2 separate regions of the Homo sapiens genome follow, and region 2 is linked to region 1. The links are contacts of gene promoters, found by promoter capture Hi-C in blood cells and fetal thymus (Javierre and others, 2016). All regions are on one chromosome and are shown on one strand. Each heading gives the region's core, a stretch centred on a gene start or on the middle of the fragment in contact. The rest is flanking DNA. Distances are from core to core; before and after follow the strand shown.

What was found. The method cuts DNA at HindIII sites, captures the fragments that hold promoters and counts their contacts. A CHiCAGO score of 5 or more calls a contact.
Region 2: a contact is called between the fragment with the promoter of EDRF1 here and the fragment with the promoter of LHPP in region 1, in 3 of 17 cell types (neutrophils, naive CD4 T cells and total CD8 T cells). The highest score is 7.9, in neutrophils.

Annotation. Positions count from the first base shown.
Region 1 is chr10:124,460,010-124,464,090 of GRCh38, forward strand. LHPP (phospholysine phosphohistidine inorganic pyrophosphate phosphatase) reads left to right here and starts at 1,814. Exons shown (of 7, transcript NM_022126.4): 1 at 1,814-1,978. The coding sequence starts at 1,854. RefSeq lists a silencer at 1,694-2,153 and an enhancer at 3,670-4,081. The HindIII fragment of the contact is 2,939 bases long and covers 1,660-4,081 here.
Region 2 is chr10:125,717,919-125,721,709 of GRCh38, forward strand. EDRF1 (erythroid differentiation regulatory factor 1) reads left to right here and starts at 1,791. Exons shown (of 25, transcript NM_001202438.2): 1 at 1,791-1,997; 2 at 3,286-3,494. The coding sequence starts at 1,890. EDRF1-DT (EDRF1 divergent transcript) reads right to left here and starts at 1,575. Exons shown (of 5, transcript NR_033847.1): 1 at 1,504-1,575. RefSeq lists enhancers at 907-1,016, 1,497-1,576, 1,692-2,674. The HindIII fragment of the contact is 5,171 bases long and covers 993-3,791 here.

The sequences.
Region 1 (4,081 bases), core at 564-3,063:
TCCTCCTCCTTGGCATGAAGCTAAAGCCCAGCCATTCTCCAAGGTCCATTTCAGGCTGCCCCTGCCCAGAAGCCACAGCTGCCCTCCTAGGCCTGCAGAGGTCATCCTCTTGACTGTGTCTGTGTCACTCATTGCCACTTGGCACACATTTGGTCAGCAGTCGTGAAGGTCTTCCATTGTTCTCTGCCCAGTCTTGATCCTGGAAGGCAAGGATCACACCCTAGAACTTTTTTGTGCCCACTGCACAGAGTAGGGTCTCAATACGTGTACGGTTCATGATGTTCCTAGCAGATTCTCCAAACTGACTCACTCAGCCCCTGGAACACTAAAAACTGCATTTCCCAGACTCCTTTGCAGCGTGGGCTAGGTTCCACCAAGCCAGACACAGTGAAAGTGAGTGGGTGGCCACAGGTGGAGGGCACAGTGGTGGATATGTTTTGTTCTTTTGGGGGCAGCTATGCTGGGGGCTGCACTAAGTGATGGGGCAGTGGTCCCAATGGAGTAGTAAAATTAAGTGTTTCTCGTGGCTGCATGGCTCCTGGCTGTGTAGGACTTAGACCCGTCATCTGTAAGCTCCTTCACCTCATGTAAACAAAACCCCTCTAGCTGGAGTGGTGTCTATTGTCTGCGACTAAGAACCCTTATATAAGGTATACTACTCCCCAACCCCATTAGTGGAAATCCCAAAGGGTAGGAACTGTATTTTATTTCACTTGTAAACAGCTCCCCTAGTAAGCATGTCAACAAAATATACACAATTCATTGAACCCCATAACATTTCAACGAATTCCTCATCCTTTCTGTGAATCAAGAGCCTGAAAAGAAATGGTGAAATAATATGATCCTCTCTTCTTTGAAAGCTCAAAGCTATGTTGGACCAGAAGTAAAGTGTTCTCGTTTCTATTTAATAACTTGAAAGGTTCCGAGGGGCCATTGAGGAAACTCCTCCCTTTTAATATCAATGTGTATTTATTGCAAAAATAATGTAGCATCGAGTGGTATTTTATAGCTTATCCAAAAACCTCCTGGGTTTAACGCATTGTGATAGTCCCGTTTTCTTCTCAGCCCAGGTCCTATGCATCCTCATCTATGCAGGGCTGTTATCTGCATATAATTTTTTTTTTTTTTAAGACAAAGTCTTGCTCTGTCGCCCCGGCTGGAGTGCAGTGGTGCAATCTCGGCTCACTGCAACCTCCGCCTCCCAGGTTCAAGCGGTTCTTCCGCCTCAGCCTACCGAGTAGCTGGGACTACAGGCATGCGCCACCACACCTAGGTGATTTTTGTATTTTTAGTAGAGACAGGGGTTTCACCATGTTGACCAGGCTGGTCTCGAACTCCTGATCTCAAGCGATCCACCCGCCTCAGCCTCCCAAAGTGCTGGGATTACAGGCATAAGCCACTACGCCCGGCCTCAATTTTGTATTGTACTTTTTCTTTCTTTCTTTAATAGAGACAGGGTCTCACTATGTTGACTAGGTTGGTCTAGAACTCCTGGGCACAAGCTGTCCGCCCGCTTCTGCCTCCCAAAGTGCTGGGATTGCAGGCGTGAACCACCGCCCCTGGCTACAGGTGCCTTCTTGTCTCAATTTGCCTTTGACCTTTCTTAGGGACTTGTTTTCTGCTTTTCCTGCTCTTTGTCCGCTGATCTCCTGGGAAGAAAGCTTCCGAAAAGGACACCGTTTCAGGGGCGAGTGACGCCGGGGTGCCCAGGCCGCGCCCCAGTTCCGGGTTTGCACCCGGTCTTCTTGCCCTGCCCCGCCCGCGGGACTACAGTTCCCAGGCGCCCCTGCGCGGCCGCGGCGCCGGCGCCGGCGTCGGTTGGGACGCGGAGCTGAGGAGCAGGGCCGGGCGCCATGGCACCGTGGGGCAAGCGGCTGGCTGGCGTGCGCGGGGTGCTGCTTGACATCTCGGGCGTGCTGTACGACAGCGGCGCGGGCGGCGGCACGGCCATCGCCGGCTCGGTGGAGGCGGTGGCCAGGTGAGTGGGCCCCGGGACGCCGCTGGGGCCGCCGAGCTCTAAGCTCAGCCCGCTCCCTGGCTGCCGGCAGGGGGCGGGGCGGCAGGGGGCGGGGCCGCGGCGCAGGCCCCGCCTCGGTCTCCCCCTTCCCACCCCGGTGCGCGCACAGTGCTGACCACGGACGACCCCACTGTTGCCCCCGGCGAGCACCAGGACTCTGCTGGTTAGGGCTGCGCGGTCAGACAGGGCGGCCACCTGGTACGTGCGCTGCTGAGCGCTTGACCTGCGGCCAGTCTGAATTGAGATGTGCTGTAAGCGTAAAATGCATACCGATTAACAAGACTTAGCCGGGCGCGGTGGCTCGCATCTGTGATTCTAGCACTTGCAGAGGCAGAGGAGGGAGGATCGCTTGAGGCTAGGGGGTTGGAGACCACCCTGGGCAACATAGGGAGACCCCGTCTCTGCCAAAAATTTAAAAATTAGCCGGGTGTGGTGGTGCACGCCTGTAGGCCCAGCCACTTGGGAGGCTGAGGCAGGAGGATCGCTTGAGCCCAGGAGGTCAAGGCTACAGTGAGCTGTGATCACCCCACTGTACTCTAGCCTGGACTGCAGAGCGAGACGGTCTCATAAACAAAACCCCCAAAAACACCAGACTTCGTGAGTAAAATGTAAAATAAAAACATGAAAATGGGTTATGTTGTTTGCCTGTTGAAATGATATACTTTTTGTTTGTTTTGTTTTGTTCTTTTCAGATGGAGTCTTGCTCTGTCGCCCAGGCTGGAGTGCAATGGCACGATCTCGGCTCACTGCAACCTCCGCCTCCCGGGTGCAAGTGATTCTCCCCCTTCAGGCTCCCGAGTAGCTGGGATTACAGGCACCCGCCATCATGCCCAGTTACTTTTTTTATTTGTTTTGTTTGAGACGGAGTTTTGCTCTTGTTGCCCAGGCTGGAATGCAGTGGTGCAATCTCTGCTGACTGCAACCGCCGCCTCCCAGGTTCAAGCGATTCTCCTGCCTCAGCCTCCTGAATAGCTGGAATTACAGGCATGTGCCACCACACCCGGCTAATTTTTTGTATTTTTAGTAGAGACGGGGTTTCACCATGTTGGGCAGGCTGGTCTCTAACTCCTGACCTCAGGTGATCCACCTGCCTCGGCCTCCCAAAGTGCTGGGATTATAGGCGTGAGCCACATGCCCAGTTGATAATATTTTTAATATACTGTTTTAGGTTAAAATATTTGAAATTAAGTATACCTTTTTTTTTTAACTTTTGTTAATGTGCTTATTAGAAAACTTTAAATTACCTTTGTGGCTCTCATTATAATTCTGTTGGACTGCATTGGTTTAGGTGAGAGGAGGAGGAAGAGAACATCGTGCCAGCCAAGACTTGACCATGAGGACACTTTTTTTTTTTTGAGACAGTTTTGCTCTTGTTGCCCAGGCCGGAGTGCAGTGGCGCCATCTGGGCTCACTGCAACCTCTGCCTCCCAGGTTCAAGTGATTCTCCTGCCTCAGCCTCCCAAGTATCTGGGATTACAGGCACCCGCCACCACGCCCAGCTAATTTTTGTATTTTTGGTAGACATGGGGTTTCACCATACTGGCTAGGCTGGTCTCGAACTCCTGACCTCAACTGATCCACCTGCCTGGGCCTTCTAAAGTGCTGGGATTACAGGCGTGAGCCACCGCACCTGGCTGACACTTTTCTTTGTATAATTTTTTTTTTTGAGACAAGGTCTCATTATGTTGCCAGGGTGGTCTTGAACTCCTTGGCTCAGGCAGTCCTCCTGCCTTGGTCTCCCAAAGTGCTAGGATTACAGGCATGAGCCACCACACCTGGCCTAATTTTTTTTTCTTTTTTTTTTTTTTTTTTTGAGACAAGGTCTTACTTTGCCACCCAGGCTGGAGTGCAGTGGTTCAATCTCACTGCAACCTCTACCTCAAGGGCTCAAGAGATCCTCCCACCTCAGCCTCCCAAGTAGCTGGAACTACAGGCACGTGCCACCATGCCCAGCTAATTTTTTTGTGTTTTTTGTAGAGATGGGGTTTTGCCATGTTGCCCAGGCCGGTCTTGAACTCCTGGGCTGAAGTGATCTGCCTGCCTCAGCTCCCAGAGTTCTGGGAT
Region 2 (3,791 bases), core at 541-3,040, 1.3 Mb after region 1:
TCTCCTGACCTCGTGATCCACCCGCATCTGCCTCCCAAAGTGCTGGGATTACAGGCGTGAGCCACCGCGCTAGGCTGCATATTGGCTTTTTAAAATTTCACTTATCACTTAACATTATATGATATGCAATTTAAATGTTCTTAAATATTCCTGAAAAACAAGTTTATGGTTGCACAGGGTTTATTTTCTACCAAAACCAAATTTGACTATCCTCCTCCTAGTGTTAGATATTATGTTCAACTTTTCACCATAAAAAACAATGCATAACTTGCAAAAACCAAAAAAGAATTATTGGCTGCAATATTCAAATGAAATGATAAAAATCAAAATCAATACATGTTGAAGTAAATGTCTACAAAATACACTATTATATCAAATTAACTGTTAAATTTAATTCACTATTATTATTTTTTTAAGACAGAGTCTCACTATCGCCCAGGCTGGAGCGCAGTGTTGCCATCTCTGCTCACTGCAACCTCTGCCTCCCAGGTTCAAGCGATTCTCCTGCCTCAGCCTCCCTAGTAGCTGGGATTACAGGCGCCCACCACCACATCTGGCTAATTTTTGTATTTTTAGTAGAGATGGGGTTTCACCCTGTTCGTCAGGCTGGTCTCGATCTCCTGACCTCAGGCAATCTGCCCACCTCGGCCTCCCAAAGTGCAGGGATTAAAGGCGTGAGCCACCGCGCCCGGCCTGTTAAATTTAATTCATAAAATTGTTTTGTTACATTTGAAAGCAATTTGTGAGTTGAATGCTTACTCATCAGGAGCATTCCTGAAAACGGACAGGACAGTGAGTTGTAAGAGCCAAACGTGAATTACAAATTGAGACAGCCAAATTGCAAGAGCCAAGTTAATTTTTAAAAACACTTTCTGTATCTTACGGCACAACAAAACACTTTTACTACAAAACATGTATTGTATAACGGATGTGGCTGCGTTTGACAGTTTGAGATGACACTGAGGAGTGTGAAAGAGAGCCTGGACCTTCAAAGCTTGCAAACGGCCCGGGCTATTTCTCCACCTCTTCGCTACTCAAAGCGCTGGCATCGTTTCCTGGGAACCTGTGAGAAATGCCGAGTCTCGGACCCATCCAGAGCGCCCGAATGGAAACCTAGGCGTTACGAGGCCCCAGGTTCAGCGTCTCACGGGTCCTGCACCACCTGGGACGCCCCGCAAGCAGCGGGCATGCCGGGCCCCCAGAAGACTCCGAAAGCCACCCATTCCCTAAACGGGGAGGGCCTCGTCCGCGCGTCCCAGCGCCCTCCCCGGAAGCCCCGCCGCTCCCACACCCAGGATGGGGCCACATGGGCACTAAAAGGCGGGCAGGAGCGCCCAGTCTCGAGATGGCTGGCTCGCCTTTCCAGTCCGGGCCCTCGGGGTGCCCGTGTGAAAAGATGTGACACTGAAGCCTGGGGAAGAAGTTTGAACCTCTCACTAATTCACGTAACGGGAGCCGCCGGCAGCGCTGACGGCTGCACCTCCCCTCCCACGCGGACACTACCTGCAGGATCGGACGACCCCCAGAACTGTTTGCCAACAAAGACATGCAGGGGGCGGAGCCTGAGCGTCAGATACCGTGAGCGGCGTGCAGAGGGCGGAGCCTAGGAGTCAGATACCGCGAGAAGTAGTCTCCCGAAGAGGTTCGGACAAGCGCAGGCGCACTACAATTCCCGCCCTGGCCGCGAAGGTGGCACCCGCAGCGGGAGGCGGGGCCGGGCCTTCGGGACAAAGATCGCGAGATTTAATGGCGAGTCACAGCTACTTCTTCCTGGCAGAGACCGGAAGTGCGGTCCGCGGAGCGTCTCTGGCGCTTACCCTGCTTTGGGCCTGCGTTGCTGCTGCTGCTCCTCCGCTCCCCCGTCGTATCGCCTGCCCTGGATCGAAGTGATGGGGGATGCCAAGGAGGCCGGAGCCGAGGGTCCGCCGGCCGGGGCCGCCGCTCGAGGAGGGCTCAGCCTCCTGTCCCAGGGAGAATCCGAGGAATCTTCTGCACAGGTGAGTCCTCCGCGGAGGGGGACCTGCCAGGGATGTGGGAGCGGAGGACCCGCTCCACCGGGGAGGGATGCCACGGTTCCCGGCAGATTCTGGAGGCTTCTCCATGTTTCCCTGACACCCCCAAAACAGGGAGTTGAAGTCCATGCTCCAGTCGGCAGGTATTCGTATTAAAAGCAGTTCTGGTAGCCGACAGGTGAATTAGATACGATCTTTCCTCTCAAGGAGGGTACATGTAAATATGTCGTTCCAAAACGTGGCACAGTCGTGCAAAGCAGGAGGGAAGAAACGGTGCCAGGTAGTGACTCGCCGAGAATGAGACCGAACTAATTCACAAAGGGTGTAAAATGTTTGCCATGCAGAAGAGGTACTGCGTGAAAGGTTAGAATATTGAACCCAGACGCCGAACTTGCTTTGGGAGTGTGCAAGTGCAGGCTGTGAGGAACGAACCCCCAATGCCTTTCTATGAAGTTAGAGACTCAAGAGTATTTGAACCATGCATGCATGCATGAACCGATGCATCGATTACTAAATATTTGCATTAAAACAAAAAGCCCAAATGTTCTACCAGACTATTTTATGAATGATGTGTTATTAAAATTAAAATACATCTTTGGCCGGGCGCGGTGGCTCACGCCTGTAATCCTAGCACTTTGGGAGGCCGAGGTGGGTGGATCACCTGAGGTCGGGGAGTTCGAGACCAGCCTGGCCAACATGGCAAAACCCTGTCTCTACTAAAAATACAAAAATTAGCCGGACGTGGTAGTGCACGCCTGTAATTCCAGCTACTAGGGAGGCTGAGGCAGGAGAATGGCGTAAACCCCAGAAGCCGAGGTTGCAGTGAGCCATGATTGCTCCACTGCACCCTAGCCTGGGCGACAAAGCAAGACTGCGTCTCAAAAAAAAAAAAAAAAAGAATTAAAATACATCTTTAATACTGAAAATAGGCTTTACTAAAGTTTGCATCTAGTTAACATGATACCATTGAGTCTCCTTGGTTTCTGCTTCTCCACTTTACATGAATACATTTTAAAAGAGATGTGGGTGGTCCATTTTCTAGCTGATAACCATAACCATCATACTCCTTGACTCATCTTTTTTCTTTGAAGTTGGTGTAAAAGAACTAAGTAAATGTTACCATTTATGCTCAAATTTATTAAGTGCTGTTAGTAACATGTGGCATACGTTCCTTGTGAAGCCTGGTGTGACAGGTTCTTGTTTTCTTTTTATAAAGGTGAGATTTTTCGTTCTTAGTAATTTTCATTAAAGTTTCACCCAATGTGTTAATTAGGGATCAGCTTTATTTCTTGGAGGCAATGAAGTGAAGAGCCGAGCTGTGGTGAAATACTCTTCTGCCCCTCCTCGAACAGCATTTGCACGCCTTGAAGAGAAAACAGACTTGAAACTCCCACCTGCCAACTGGTTACGAGAGAGTGCCAAACTAGGGCCAGCAGGAACTACCATTCTTGGCAACAGCAAGAAAAGCAAGCCATTTTCAAGGTAAATATTAATCAGTGGCATTTTTACCTGCCCCTCCACCCTCACTTAAAACTCTTATTTGCTTTTAAATTCAGTTTGTAATGCCTATTAACTTGTCGAGATTTCTCTTTAGAGAAAGATCACATTTGATTTTCAAAGGCTTTTTATTCTGATAATAGATGATGTTAAAACATGAAGATATACATACAATATCAATTGCATATGCTTCTTTTAAGTCTACGTCATGTTATCAGCAAAGATGAGTTTTGACTGCCAAAGTTCAATCAGCCCTTTCATTTTAGCCAATTTGCATACCTT